2 separate regions of the Homo sapiens genome follow, and region 1 is linked to region 2. The links are contacts of gene promoters, found by promoter capture Hi-C in blood cells and fetal thymus (Javierre and others, 2016). All regions are on one chromosome and are shown on one strand. The core of a region is centred on a gene start or on the middle of the fragment in contact, and the rest is flanking DNA. Distances in the headings are between cores, read along the strand shown. Region 1 has its middle 23 kb from the start of LYPD4. Region 2 holds the start of ATP1A3 (ATPase Na+/K+ transporting subunit alpha 3).

Region 1 (3,400 bases), core at 443-2,942, 170 kb before region 2:
TACAGGCGTGAGCCACCATGCCAGGCCGCCTGGCTTTTTTTTGTAGAGATGGGATCTCATTATGTTGCCCAGGCTGGTTTCAGACTCCTGAGCCCAAGCAATCCACTCACCTCGGCTCTCCAAACATCTGGGACCGCACCCAGGCATGCACCACTGCACCCAGCCTATTTCTTACTTTCTTTCTTTTTTTTTTTTTTTTGAGACACAGTCTTGCTCTTGTCACCCAGGCTAAAGTTCAATGGCACGATCTTGGCTCACTGCAACCTCCACCTCCCAGGTTCAAGCAATTCTCCTGCCTCAGCCTCCCAAGTAGCTGGGATTACAGGCGCCCACCACCATGCCTGGCTAATTTTTGTATTTTTAGTAGAGACAGGGTTTCGCCTTGTTGGCCAGGCTGGTCTTGAACTCCTGACCTCAGGTGATCTGCCCGCTTCAGCCTCCCAAAGTGCTGGGATTACAGCTGTGAGCCACCGCACCTGGCCCTATTTCTTACTTTCTAGTCCATATGTATTTATTTCCTTTTCTTGCCTTATTCCAGTGCTGAAACTTCCAGTAGTATATTGAATAAGGATGATGAGAGTGGGCACCCTTGCCCTTTTCTTAGTATTAGAGGGAAAACATTCAGTCTTACACCATTGAAAGTGCAACCAGGCATGGTGGCTCACACCTGTAATCCCAGCACTTTGAGCGGCCAAGTTGGGCAGATAACTTGAGGTGAGGAGTTCGAGACCAGCCTGGCCAACATGGTGAAACACCATCTCTACCAAAAATACAAAAAAAAAAAAAAAAATAGTCGAGTGTGCTGGCCTGCACCTGTAGTCCCAGCTACTCAGGAGGCTGAGGCAGGAGAATCACCTGAACCTGAAAGGAGGAGGTTGCAGTAAGTGGAGATGGTGCCACTGCATTCCAGCCTGGGTGACAGAGCAACCCCTATCTCAAAAACAAAAAAATTTTTAAGGAATGATGTTAAATGACAGAAGATGAGAAAGACAGCAGAGTAAGTCTCTCCAGCCATTATCTCCCAGCAGAAACATCCATTTGAGCAACTATCCACACACAAAATTACTTTCACAAGAGCCAAAAAAAAAAAAAAAACTCGAACACACGAGTGAAGCTGGGAAGCGCCCTTGGACCACAAAGACAAGCAAAACCACGGTTGGAAGGTAAAGGGATCAGTTCTCTGTGCTTGCAACATGCCTCCCCTCAAGCCATTATGGCACCACACGTGGAAACTCCCCATGGACCCATGATTTTTACACTGGAAAAACTGAGCTAGGGGTGGACATACAGATTCCCCATCATTCCGGGCCCCTCCACAAAAGACTCACTCCTGTATTGGCCCATAGAGAACACTGCAAGTACCTAAGGCCAGTTAAAGACAAAAAGAAGGGGTGGGGTTGGGCAGCCACTGCAAGGAATTTGGCAGTGGCTCTCCATCCCTGCCAGAGGAGATGCTGCACCAAAGACACTGTTTACAGAAACCATGCTGCAGGAAGCATGGTCCACAGATCCTCTGGCCTTGAGGGCCTGGCTGGTTCTCCACAGGGCCCAGGTGCCCTCTGTGGCTCTCCCACCTGCCCCATCCAGGTCCGACATTTCATCAGCAGTGAAGCTAGTGCCAGACTCGCCTCTAACCTGGGCTTAGGGTACCCCCTAGTGTTGAAATGGAAGACAACAGTCAGTCCACTCACAATTTCTAAATAAGCCCACTGAAATAGAATGGTCACAAACAAACTCAGGCTGTAAAGACCGTAATAAACACCTAATTCACCAATGCATAGATAGAGACGCAGATCTAGGAATAAGAATAGCCTAGGAACGTGCCTCGTCAAATAGACAGAACAAAATGCCAATGAATTATCCTAAAAACATGCAAATGAATGGTCTGGCAGGCAAAGAATTCAAAACGGCTGTTTTAAGAAAACTCAGAGAACTTAAAGAAAACATAGAGAAACAATTCAGACGTTTGTCAGAGAAATGTAACAGCGAAAGTAAAATAATAAGAAACAAACAGAAACCTTGAAGCTGAGAAGTACAATATGAAATGAAAAATGTGCCGGGCGCGGTGGCTCATGCCTGTAATCCCAGCACTCTGGGAGGCCGAGGCGGACGGATCACGGGGTCAGGAGATCGAGACCATCCTGGATAACACGGTGAAACCCCGTCTCTACTAAAAATACAAAAAATTAGCCGGGCGTGGTGGCGGGAGCCTGTAGTCCCAGCTACTCGGGAGGCTGAGGCAGGAGAATGGCGTGAACCCGGGAGGCGGAGCTTGCAGTGAGCCGAGATCGGGCCATTGCACTCCAGCCTGGGCGACAAAGCAAGACTCCGTCTCAAAAAAAAAAAAAAAAATGTGTCGGGCATAGTGCTGCATGACTATAGTCTCAGTTATTCAGGAGAATGAAGTGAGAGGATCACTTGAGTCCAGGAGTTTGAGACCAACCTGCTCAATATAGTGAGACCCCCGTCTCTGAAAAAATAAAAAATGTACTGTGTTCATGGACTGGAAGAATTAATATTGTTAAAATGTCCATACTAACCATGATGAACTACAAATTCAACTCAGTCTCTAGCAATATTTCAATGGCATTCTTCACAGAAGTAGAAATATAGGCCATTCGCAGTGGCTCGCGCCTGTAATTTCAGCACTTTGGGAGGCCACAGTGGGTGGATCACTTGAGGCCAGGAGTTAAACTACACTGACCAACCTGGCCAATCCCATCTGTACTAAAATACAAAAATTAGCCAGGCACGGTGGTGCATGCCTGTAACCCCAGCTACTCAAGAGGGTGAGGCAAGAGAATTGCTTGAACATGGGAGGCCGAGTTTGTAGTGAGCCAAGATGGCGCCACTGTACTCCACCCTGGGCAACACAGCAAGACTCTGTCTCAAAAAAAAGAAAAAAGAAAAATGCTCCCAATACTCTGGGAGGCCGAAGCAGGTGGATTACCTGATGTCAGGAGTTCGAGACCAGCCTGGCCAACATGGTGAAACCCCATTTCTACTAAAAACACAAAAATGTGCTGGGTGTGGTGGTGTGCACCTATAATCCCAGCTACCTAGGAGGCTGAGGCTGGAGAAATTTTTTATTTCCTTATTAATTTCTTCATTTACCCATTGGTGGCTCAGTAGTATGTTGTTTAATTTCCATGTGCTGGTGTGTTTTCTGGGATTCCTCTCATTATTAATTTCTAGTTTTATACCCCTGTGGTAAGAAAAATATACTTACGCCCTGCCTGGTGGCTCACGCCTATAATCTCAACACTTTGGGAAGCCAAGATGGGAAGATCACTTGAGGCCAGGAGTTCAAGACCAGCCTGAACAACATAGTGAGATTCCATCTCCACAAAAGTAAAAAAAAAAATTAGCTGGGCATTGTGGGGCACTCCTGTAACCCCAG
Region 2 (3,094 bases), core at 297-2,796:
TGTCTCTCTGCTTGTCTCTGTCTCTTTGTCTCTATGTCCATGTCTCTTTCTCTGTCTCTTTCAGAGCATCTCTGTCTTTCCATGTGTCTCTGTCTTTCCTTCCCATGTCTAAGCTGCCTTCATTTCTCCTCTCGTCCCCACTCCGTTTCCTAAGACCACCTCCCTCTAACTTCCTTCTCTAGGGCTTTTAGCATCAGTCTTCTCCCAATCCATCCACAGCTTCCCTCCCTCCATCCCACTTACCTGACAGCCATCACTGACTACCCCTTTCTCCCTTCTCTCCCCTAGTCCTGCCCCAACCCAATCCTCCTTCCCAGCCCCCCGGCCCACCCTGCCCCACCCCACAGATCTGCAGCCCCATCCCCCACCTCCATCCCTGGGCCCATCAGCCTTTATCCGCCATCTTTCTCCCCAGCCCTCCTATTCTCCCTCCACTGGCCTCTCCCGCCCTCTTCATCCCACCTACCCCCACCCACCCCCTCCTCTCCTGATTCCCCCTCCCTTCAGCCCCGCCCCAGACACACAGGGAGGAATCCAGGGCTGCAGCAAGGGTCAGGTGGTCAGCCAGGGAGGGAGGCGGCATCTGCTGGAGAGACTCACAGACAGACAAGGACACACGGACACAGAGGCAAGGACACAGCCAGGCATGCACGCTCCCCACTACACAGTTGCACACGCACACCCTCAGCTGTGCACTCAGTCTCCCCACCGTGGCTCTCCTGTTCCTCTCCTCCTCCCAGCCTCCCATGCCTGCTCCCCTACATGAGGGGCTGCACACACACACACTGCAGCCCCAGGCTGCGACACTGCGGAGCCTGCACACACACACACACACACACACACACACACACACACACACACACACACTGCGGAGTCCCCCCATCCAGGCCTGGAAGGAGAAAGAGAGGTCATCTGGTGTCCATCCCACAACGTGGACCTATCCGCACCCTGCCAGGGAAGCAGGGGGGCCTCAATAACCCCAGACGCACTAACACGAGCTCTCACAGACACACCCAGACGCGATCGCAGACTTTCAGACACCACGGGGCCCACACACTCGCTGCCAGGGCCTGACAGAGCCAGCAGCTCTCATACGCACATGCAACTGTGCACATGCAACCGCACAAGGTCAGGCGGAGATGCTGAGGGCTGGCCCACAACCTCGCGGATCTCCGCACACAAAGCCATGCCAACGTGCGCCACAGACCCCCCGCCGCCCCCTGCGGCCCCACGACCACATGGATTGGCTGGGTCAGCCGGCTCCCCGGGTCTCGCAGGCCTGGCCCCGGAGCGCAGGGGTCCCGGTGCCCCCGCCCCCCGCGCACACCCAATGTCACCGGCCCCACAATGTCACACGGAAGCGGCGCCCAGCCGGCTCAGCACCTACCCCCATCTTGGCGGCTCCGCGGCGAGAGAGCCAGGCGGGCGGGGCGGGGACCTCGGGGCGGGCTCAGGCTCAGGCTTGGGCTGGGAGCCTCTGCAGCGCCCGCGCCTCGGTAGGTGCGCGCGTCCGTCCGTCCGTCCGTTGGTCCCACCGCACAGAGGCTGCGGCGGCCGCCGCCTCCGCCTCCTCATATGCCCGCGTCCGCGGGAGGGGGGCGGCGCTGGCCAATCAGGGGCGCCGCCGTGCTGACGGACGGCCCGCGGCCCCGCCCCTGGTACTGCAGCTGTCCTCCCCTTGGGCTCCGCAAAGTGGCGGCGCGGCCGCGAAGGGGGAGCGCTGCGGGGGTGGGGGGATTCCCAGAGACCTCCGCAATAGGGGACTTGGAGACCCCCTCAATATGGAGTAGGGCCTCCAAGAAGGGGCGCTCAGGGAAAGAAAACCCCGGAAATCCTCTCATTGTGGGGGTGTGCCATCACCGAGAAGGGTACGCTGGGGGAGGGGGGGCGGGTAGTGACACGGGGTGGGAGGGAAGCCCGGTGAATCACTGCAGTGTGGCACCAGGGACCCTGGAGACGGCGGGGGGTAGTGCTGTTCAGGGAGAGGGCCCTGCAGGAGGGGAAGTTGGAAGGGAACACAAGAGAGCAAGAAAGGCCTTGCAATTGAGGAGGGGTGCTGGCGGGAGGAGCCCTGAGATTCCCTCACTGTGGGTGCCCCCCCACTACGCCTGAGCTATCCAATGAGCCACAACCACACAGGGTACACGGGAGACACAACACGGTGGAGGATGGCCCCAGGAGGCCCAGAAAATGCCCAGCGTCACAGTTACACAGGACCATCACACTGATAGCCCAGATGCTGGGGACACGCACACACCACAGGGTTGCACTCATATTCCACCATAGGCCAGCATGTACCCTCACACACACAACACCACCCCACCACACACAGAGTCTCAAACATAGAGTGAAACACACATAGGGCACACACCTTACACACCCATCACACCACAAGAGACTCATAATCACAGCCACAAAGTGCTGTGCGGACTAACACCGACACTCAGAAAATCGCAGACTCACACATCACACACTCTACCACACCTGACCTCCCACCATCTCACATAGAAACCCACATCGTGCAACCCATAAACCAACACACACCTGCACTCAGCACCATCACACACGCACAGGCCTCACACTGCCTCCAGACACACTACATCAGCCTTTGTGGACATCGTTGCATGATCCCACGATGTCGCACACATCCTCACACACACTGCTCCCCAGTGTGTTTGGGCATGAGCAACGGCCCACAGTGCAAAGTTGCCAATGCTAACTGTGAATGACAGACAAAAAGGTGCACACACTTACACATAGCACAATAATTCAAACACAAGTCACGCGACACCCACACACCTCCCACACATACACACATCACGTTATTGCAGCACTATCGCAGACATCTTTGTTGCACCTCCAAACACACCCCAACGCCCTCACCCACATGACACACAGAGCTCGTCACAGTATATGTACACACACAGATGCACAGCCGGCACCCACACCCCAGGCCTGCTGCCGACACACAACACCCCATCAGCCACCCCACTGGAGCCCAAGAAGTTGAGGCCTCCCCACTCACTCCAACACCACTTTGTTCTATGAGGAACACCCCAGACTCTCCCTGGGGATGGTAGAAGGGGAAGAGAGA

What was found. The method cuts DNA at HindIII sites, captures the fragments that hold promoters and counts their contacts. A CHiCAGO score of 5 or more calls a contact.
Region 1: a contact is called between a fragment that was not itself captured here and the fragment with the promoter of ATP1A3 in region 2, in 2 of 17 cell types (non-activated CD4 T cells and activated CD4 T cells). The highest score is 5.7, in non-activated CD4 T cells.

Annotation. Positions count from the first base shown.
Region 1 is chr19:41,819,666-41,823,065 of GRCh38, forward strand. No RefSeq gene overlaps it. Among named protein-coding and RNA genes, the nearest start is that of LYPD4, 23 kb to the right of the region's middle. The HindIII fragment of the contact is 5,205 bases long and covers 1-3,400 here.
Region 2 is chr19:41,992,684-41,995,777 of GRCh38, forward strand. It overlaps ATP1A3 (ATPase Na+/K+ transporting subunit alpha 3), which reads right to left and starts at 1,547. Exons shown (of 23, transcript NM_152296.5): 1 at 1,388-1,547. The coding sequence starts at 1,393. RefSeq lists a silencer at 1,281-1,720. The HindIII fragment of the contact is 18,418 bases long and covers 1-3,094 here.